Linked DNA regions of Homo sapiens: all the other regions are linked to region 3. The links are contacts of gene promoters, found by promoter capture Hi-C in blood cells and fetal thymus (Javierre and others, 2016). All regions are on one chromosome and are shown on one strand. The core of a region is centred on a gene start or on the middle of the fragment in contact, and the rest is flanking DNA. Distances in the headings are between cores, read along the strand shown.

What was found. The method cuts DNA at HindIII sites, captures the fragments that hold promoters and counts their contacts. A CHiCAGO score of 5 or more calls a contact.
Region 1: a fragment that was not itself captured here is called in contact with the fragment with the promoter of KCNMA1 in region 3 in 1 of 17 cell types (total CD8 T cells); the score reaches 5.4 in total CD8 T cells.
Region 2: a fragment that was not itself captured here is called in contact with the fragment with the promoter of KCNMA1 in region 3 in 2 of 17 cell types (naive CD8 T cells and total CD8 T cells); the score reaches 5.3 in naive CD8 T cells.

The regions. Positions count from the first base shown.
Region 1 is chr10:77,036,828-77,039,527 of GRCh38, reverse strand. The region is part of intron 15 of KCNMA1 (potassium calcium-activated channel subfamily M alpha 1); the gene reads left to right. Among named protein-coding and RNA genes, the nearest start is that of KCNMA1-AS2, 100 kb to the left of the region's middle. The HindIII fragment of the contact is 4,998 bases long and covers 1-2,700 here.
Region 2 is chr10:77,115,832-77,118,580 of GRCh38, reverse strand. The region is part of intron 6 of KCNMA1 (potassium calcium-activated channel subfamily M alpha 1); the gene reads left to right. Among named protein-coding and RNA genes, the nearest start is that of KCNMA1-AS2, 24 kb to the left of the region's middle. The HindIII fragment of the contact is 2,262 bases long and covers 174-2,435 here.
Region 3 is chr10:77,636,554-77,639,416 of GRCh38, reverse strand. KCNMA1 (potassium calcium-activated channel subfamily M alpha 1) reads left to right here and starts at 1,609. Exons shown (of 28, transcript NM_001161352.2): 1 at 1,609-2,152. The coding sequence starts at 1,775. The HindIII fragment of the contact is 4,792 bases long and covers 1-2,863 here.

The DNA.
Region 1 (2,700 bases), core at 176-2,675, 600 kb after region 3:
GTAAGTGACCTTTAACTGGATGCTCTTTGGCTTTCAGGGATATTGAATGTGCCCCTTGCAAGGAAGCCTCCCACCTCTGCTGGGTACAGTTGGAGCACTTGACAATTGCCGAGGGTATCCCGTGTGCTCGGCCCCATGTGATGAATAGGAGGGTGGGTCATTACATGGCCTCTGCCTGGGGAATTTCCACTGGCCCCACTTTTCTTGACAGGCCTGAGAGTCTTGGACTTGAATTCATCATTTATGCTAACTTATGAACTACAGTTATCCTGCATGCCTTCTGTGATGTAGACACATTTATGAAGAGTGGCATAAACCCCTGCCTGTCTGATTCTAAGAGGGCAAAACAAATCTTGCCAGCCCCTCAATGAAAGGAATTTTAATCTGTCTTCCCATCAAGTCTGATCATAGAGACAACAGAGAAGCTACTGAAATAAAGCCATTCAAAGTGTTTTCACCCTTTGCTGAGGAAATGTGGAACCAAATATACAGAAGGAGGCCTTGAGCCCCCACATAGACAACTGCCATGTTATAATAATAACAAGTCTTAGCTTCTCTTTCCACTGGCTCAGCAGGATGGATCAAAGCCACCCGCCATGGCCACTGCAGGTAGAATAGATGGTCACCTATGGGGGATGACCTCAAGAGCTCCAGGTGTCTGCCGTGAGGCATGACAGTGCCTCAGATTCCTCACTTAGAATCCTCATGTTTGCAATCCCACCACTTTTAGAAGCTGAGGTGAGAGGATCACTTGAGGCTAGGCATTCAAGACTAGCCTGGGCAACACAGTGAGACTTTATCTCTACAAAAAATAAGGAAAATTAGCCGAGTGTGGTGGCACACACGTATGGTCCTAGCTACTCTAGAGGCTGGGGTAGAAGGATTGCTTGAGCCCAGGAGGTTGAGGCTGCCCAGGAGGTTGATTACGCAACTGCATTCCAGCCTGGATAGCAGTGATTGTATCTCTAAAATAATAATAATAAAAAATCTCAGATGTTGAGTTTAAGATGAACGGGGTCTTTGTGCCCTCTGAAAACACAAACTCCCTGAGGTTGGTGAAACATTAAGCCTATTCTCCTGACACCTTAGCAAAGGATTTGACAAGGATTCTTCTCACTGGGAAGAAACAGGGGTATCTGGGAGCTCACTGGGCTGAGGAAGAAAAGCCATTTGCTTGCACTTCCTGCCTACATACAAACCAAAAGAGAGGTCTGAAGACATCGAAACAAAACTGATCAGGCTTTACCACAAAGGAGGGGACAGTCCTGGGTGCCCTTGGCCTCCTCTGTATCACGGTTTTCTTTCTGTATGCAGGAGGGAGGGAGGCGGAGCGCTTGGTGGCTTCGTGTTTACCTGGAGCCTCCTGTCACTGAACACAGCAGGTGCACTCTGTCAGTCCCTGGGCCCAGACCCTAAGCAATCCAAAATGGTTTGGCTGTTTACTGAAATTTCTCACCCTGTCTCTAAGCGAAAGTTTTAATGCTAAATGGACTGGAAAAGTGAATAGGTAATTGATTCGGAAGGAGTTATTTTCTGAAAATGGATGCCCTATTGTGACTCCCATGTGTGCCTTTCTTTGAGAGCTATTTCTCTTCCTGCCACTGAGAGGAGTTAAGCATTCAGAGGCATTGGGTCCTGGAACACTGAGGCTGTCCCAGGGGATCTCCCCCTCCCTGGAGCTTGGTCTGCCTAGGATACAAAGCCCCGGGGGAAAGCAGGCTTTTTAACAGAAGCTAGTTTTATAAAAAGGCAATTGAAGCCTTGGCTGTCTAATGTGGTGGTGGTCTGAGCACATAGCAGAGCTGCCAGCGCCTGCGGGAGTCTTATGTTGGTGAGGGTGTCAGCAGGGGCTCCGTCAAGCCCCCTTCCTTGGCTGTAGGGTTTCCCTGGCCTAACTGGTGTTTGTATCTAACAAGAGTGCTCCCTCCCCAACCCCCAGGCCCTTCTTGCTTTTCCACCCTTCTCTTACTCTGCTCTTGGGAACTGAGTCCGTTCCTCTTATGGGTAACTTGAAGGGTCAGGACTGCTCCCCCTACAGGCTCTAACTGGGATAGTCACTAGGTATGTTTGACTCACGTAGATATCAACTAGTTGCTGATATTTCCAAATAGTAGTATGTCACGTAAAAACTAGATTTCTGGATTCTTTAGAAAATCTAATGTGACAATGCAAGACCTGCATTTCCTCAGAATGCTAACTGGCTCCAGTTTGATGTAGCAAAGGGGTTAGTATAGTCATGTAGTTACTCCTCCCTGATATCTTAAACCAGGCCAGATTTGCACATAAATCCCAGGCCTGGCCCTGTGGTTGTGTGAGTTTGCCAACCCTGACCCACTGGGTGGTGTGGAACTTCACTGGCCTTCAGCCAGCTCAAGAGCTGGCACTAGTGGCTCTGTGAATATTCCCTTTGATTGATTTTTGTATTTAGAACATGTCCCAAGAAGGAGACAAATTGTTGTCAGATAATTTAGTATTTGCTCAGTAAAGTTTCTGGAATATATATATATTCCACTTCTGATGTGAGTGAGAATGTGTACAACTTAGTGCTATTATTCGTTTAATACAATGATACAGCAGAGGTAGAAATGATCAATAAAAGAAGGACATTTAATGAGATTTAGGAACATCCCAAAACATTGAAGCTCTCCTCAAGCATTTGATTATCTGGAGGCTTAATTATCTGTGTTTTCTACTTTAAAT
Region 2 (2,749 bases), core at 55-2,554, 520 kb after region 3:
TAACAGCACACTGGTGTGAGAGCATAACACTTGGGGAAACTTTGGGTAATTCTGCACTCCTGGACATTAAGCGTTCTGTGATGGAAAGAGGAGGATGAGGTTAAGAGGGTAGGAAAGGCCAGGTCACCAGGCACAGAAGCAAACGTCATGTAATTGTAAGAAATCTAGAAGCTTTAGGACAACTCTCTGAGGCCATTCTCTCTCCAGGTGCCAGCCTGGCTAATCTTGGCTCCTTCCTTTTGGGCATCCCCAAGTGTGGATCCCAAAGTTCTGTCCCAGAGAAAGTGCAGCCTTGGCTTTTGTAGGGTTTTGGACTTTTGAGCGATTCTCCTGTGACTCTTCCATACTCTGCTGCTTTCATAGCGGTCCTTCCAGAAGGGTGGGTTGGGGGACCCATGTAATCGTCTTTAGGGAGATTTTGTCTGGCTCTCTTTGGCGGTGAATTCCTGCCAATCTGTGGCATTAGGCAGGGATGGAGGCTTTGCAATGCAATTTGAAATAATGATTTGGAGTTGCTGTTTCATTTCCAGTACTTTGGCTGCCTCACTGGGCCAAGAGCTGAAAGAAATAAGGCAGAGAAGCATAAGGTGGGCAGAAAGATTGATAAAGAATTAAGAATGCAGCAGAAGGAAAATTAAAGTGCATGGGATGAAATGGGCAAATCACAATTATGTGACCAGCATCAGGGCCCTTTCCCAAACTGCAAGCCCATAGGGGGCCTAGAATACTCCATAGCCTGAAACGGCCAATTAAAGGGGAGACAAGGAGACTCCCTCTCACTATCTGAGGTTTTGGCAGTTTCTCAGTTGCCCTGCAAACTGGAGATCTAACACACAGGTGCTAGAACACTTATTCTACTGTCAGAGGAAAGTCAGCAGCTGTGTTTAAAGGCTGTAATTCCACATCTCATTGACTGTGGTAAATATTGATGACTAAAACATGGATCACTCAGCAATTTTTTCCAAAATGGGAATTTCCTTATTGTTTCCTCTAATTTTTCTTTTCTTTTCTTTTCTTTTTTTTTTTTTTTTTTTTTTTTTTGAGATAGACTCTTGCTCTGTTGTCCAGGCTGGGCGTGATCTCAGCTCACTGCAACCTCCGTCTCCAGGGTTCAAGCCATTCTCCTGCCTCAGCCTCCCGAGTAGCTGGGATTACAGGTGCCTGCCACCACACCTGGCTACTTTTTGTATTTTTAGTAGAGACAGGGTTTCACCGTGTTGGCCACGCTGGTCTCGAACTTTTGACCTCAGGTGATCTGCCCACTTTGGCCTCCCAAAGTGCTGGGATTACAGGTGTGAGCCACTGTGCCCAGCCTGTTTCCTCTAATTTTGAAAATATGTTCATGGTAAACATTGCAACAACACACAAAATCACATAGGATAAAGTAAAATTGCCTCCACATCACACTACTTTGAGATAATGATTACATCTACTATGTCACCTTTTGTTTCTCACATAGCATTCCATGATATGCATGAGTCATCGTGTACCTAACCAATATGGTTTTGGGAGGCGTTTTTGAAACTAAAACATTACTACTGACATGAACTTAGAAATGGCTCCAAGATAAAGTTTGTAAAGAAGAGTATTCTATATGGAGACTGCAAGAGATGTGCAGGGAGAGGCCAAATCATGCAGGTTCTTAGATTCATGGACTTTACTGAGAACAAATGAGAGCTGTTGAAGGATTTTAATCAGGAGAGGAAATGTGGTTAGACTGACATTTTAGAAAGATCCACTATTCCAACAGTTGTATAGAGAATGGGGTTGAAGCATCAAAGACCTCATAGACCATAAGACCAATTAGGAGGCAGTAGTCCAGGGAAGAGGTATTAGGGCATGGCCTTAGGCAGTGCAAATTGGGGCAGAGAAAGAAGAAGGGATCTAGAGATAATTAAGGGATTGAATTGGCAGAATTTCACTTTGTTCCACTCATGTTGTCATTCAGACCATTTATGTTAGTGTGGTGCAGTCCAGTTAACTTTTTAGGGGGTGGGTATTTTACATCTGTCCAGCAAAGAGAGCAGTAAAACAAACAAGGCCAGCAGCACCTGGCAGTACCAGAAACAAAGAGAAAAATTAGAGACAAGCAGAACAGGGACAAACGTACACTTCTTTGTACAAAGTGCATGGCATTTTCTGTGTTAACTGAAACATGTCTTGTTAAACATATAGAGGACAAAGGAGGCCCCAGAAGCTCTGGGTTTACAGCTGTAATCTCTGGAGCCAGACCTTCTCTTGCAGCATCCACAGTTTCTTGGAAGAGGTCTCTAATCTACAAGAATCCTGTGCCTGACCTATCATGATTCACTGTGTCCATCGATGTGAATTAGAACTCATGGGATGGAGACTCAGGAATTGTATAGGCAACATGAGAATGATTGACTTTAGTTGGATCAGGTGTTGATGATAAGATCATAATCTCCCTCAAAGCTTAGGAAGCAGGCTAGAATCTGAATGGTTCAAATCATTCTAACCGCTGGTAGCTTCGTGTTTGGCCCAGATCCCTGGGCTTGACCAGGAAGGCTATGACTATCTCCACACAGAGATATATAACCTTTGCTATGCAGAGCACACAGCCCTGCTCCTGGCGTGCCTCACTCTTTCTTCCCAAGGAGCCCTACTTAACCTGGCAAGGTTCACATTTCAGACTGTGGAGAATGCCCACCAGGGGTTAACCTTGCATCTTTTGCTTGTAGCTTTCAGATGTGTGGTCATACAGTTTCATTTAGAAAGCAAATTCCTAAAC
Region 3 (2,863 bases), core at 360-2,859:
GCAATGAGGGAAGAGCGTGATCATCCTCGATTTAATTAGCGCTGGAAAAACTTGGGGTCCAGCTGGTAGCACGAGGACGGACGCTGTTCAGGGGGCGCAAAGTTTCTGAAAGTGTCAGAAGGGGGATTCCCCTGGTGGTGTACGGAGACACGCTACGGAACAAACACGGACTCCTTCTTCATCTTAAGTGGGGAGAAGGGAAGACCCTAAATGGGGAACGGTGAGCCAGAATGAAGTCTGGAGTCCCTCTTCCCCCATCTGCCCTCCTCACGGGATGGATGGAGTCTGAGACTATATGAGAGGAAAGCAACCCTTCAGGGAACTCTATTGTCTATCGGGGCCTGCACTATCCCCAGGCCAGGTCGTCCTTGATCATTTCTGCCTACTCTTTGTTGGGCAGCCTCTGTTGCTAATAAGGAAAAAGGAGAGAAACCACCTGCTGCTGTCAGAGGCCACAGACCACCCGCTGGCCTTCCTGACTCTACCCTCCAGCCACACGCGGGACCCTGGGCACATAGGTAGCAGGAAGAGCGAAGTAGGGGTGGGTAGCTGTGTGTATCCTGGCGTGGGGTCCTCCTCACTCCCGAAGCCCGAGGGTCCTGGGGAGCTCAGCCTGTGGAATCCAGTTGACAGCTGGCCACTCCTCCCCTCCCCACTGGGGGCTCTTTGGGGAAAAAAACGGCCTGACCGGGGCGCCCCGCCGTCCTCCCAGTGTACCCCACCGCTCTCGGCTGGGGGCGCAGCACCTTGGAGAGAGGCGCCTGGCCCCGCGCCTGGGCTGGGGGCGCTCTACCTTGCGCCCTGGGGGTCAGGGGCGCTTGCCGGGCCGCTGCCGAGGGGCCCTGCCCACCCCTGCCCAGCCCGGAGCCCAGGCGAGCCAGCGCGGCGAGCCTCCTCCCCTCCCGCCTGGGTCGTCCTGAGTCCGCGCCCGCTCCAGTTGCTGCAGCTGCTGCTGCTGGCGGCTGCGGGGAGCGCGGGGCGCGCGCCGAAGAGGCTTGGGCGGCGAGGACGGGGACGAGGAGGAGTCGGAGGCGGCAAGGAGGAAGAGCGAGCGGAGGCCGAGGGGCTCAGCGGCGTGGCGACAGGACTAGGGGGTCCCGAGAACATGGGCTAGCAGGCGGCCACGGGCCGGCGGCCGGACGCGGTGAACCTGCCGCGGCCGGGCGCGCACTGGCGCGGCGAGCCGGAGCCGAGCGCAGCCGGGGGAGGAGGGCTGGCGCAGGGGCGCCCGGGCGGAGGGGGCCGATTATCCATTATTAACGAGTTACCACCTAATAAGCGGAGAGCGGCTCGTTAGCCGCGCGGGAGGCGCTCGGGGAAGGGGGTCACCGGCCGAGCGCAGCGCACACCCGTGGCGCACGGCGGGCGGCGCGGCGCCGAGGACACCCGGGACCGCGCGCGGAGCCGGGGCGGGCCCGGGGGCGGCGCAGACCCCGGGCGCGGGCGGCCCGCGGCGCCCCCTGGCTCTCGGCGCTCGGGGCCAGCGCAGCCCGGGGCGAGCGGGGCGCGGGCCGGGGAGGGGGAGCTGCCCGCGCACTCCATCCCCCTCCCCCCCGGGCGGGCGGCGGCGGCTCGCTGTATATATCTCGGCGCACCCCGCCAGGTCGCGCACAGCGCCCCGAGCCCAGGCGCCTCCCCGCCCCCCTCCCGCGCTCCGCGGCGGCGGCGGCGGCGGCAGCAGTAGCAGCAATATGGCTGTTGATGGGTGTTTGGGGTGGCGCTGGCGGCGGGAGGAGCTCCCCCGAGCCCCTGCGCCGGCTGCCCGTTGCTAGCTATGGCAAATGGTGGCGGCGGCGGCGGCGGCAGCAGCGGCGGCGGCGGCGGCGGCGGAGGCAGCAGTCTTAGAATGAGTAGCAATATCCACGCGAACCATCTCAGCCTAGACGCGTCCTCCTCCTCCTCCTCCTCCTCTTCCTCTTCTTCTTCTTCCTCCTCCTCTTCCTCCTCGTCCTCGGTCCACGAGCCCAAGATGGATGCGCTCATCATCCCGGTGACCATGGAGGTGCCGTGCGACAGCCGGGGCCAACGCATGTGGTGGGCTTTCCTGGCCTCCTCCATGGTGACTTTCTTCGGGGGCCTCTTCATCATCTTGCTCTGGCGGACGCTCAAGTACCTGTGGACCGTGTGCTGCCACTGCGGGGGCAAGACGAAGGTAACGCGCGCCCCGGGCGCCCGCCCTCTGCGCCAGCCCCACCGCTTCTCGGCGTCCCCTGCAGCCCACCTCCTCGCTCCGCGCCGCGCCGTGCCTCCCTCCATCCCCGCCTGCCTTCCCCTCGCCGCCTTCCCTTCCCTCGGCTCTCCCGGTGCTCTCGGATCGGGGCAGCGGGCGGCGCGCCGGGGGTGAGGAGTTGCCCCCAGCCAGTGCGCTCCGGGACGCGGACGCTCAATCCTGTCCTCTTGTTTATTGTAGGGTTGTTGGCGGCTGCGGCTGGGGCCGGGGTCGGGGACTCACAGGCTCGGGTGCCGTGGTGCGGGGTGGGGACAGCCAACTCAGCGGGGACGGAGGAAGCTGGGGGCAGCTGGGTGCGTGTTTTGCACCGCTCACCTGCCGGGGCTCGGCTCCTGGCGGTGGGCGAGAGGGAGCACATCCGCCCATACTTTAGGAACCTGTTGGGGAGATGAGTTCGTGGGGTCAGAAAGAAGGGAAAAATCCTTTGGGCAAGGGAGAGAATAATTTTGCACAAGGGAATCCCGGGGGAGGAGCATGGCCCGAGATAACAGGGGGACTTCGAGGGGCGAGAGAAGTTGGGGAGATCCATCCCACTATTGGGGGTAGCCCACGGGGCTGCCACTTTTGGAATGTGTCGAGGTCGCATATCTGATGTAACCTCCCACTCCGTCCCTTAGGTGCTCTAGTGGAACA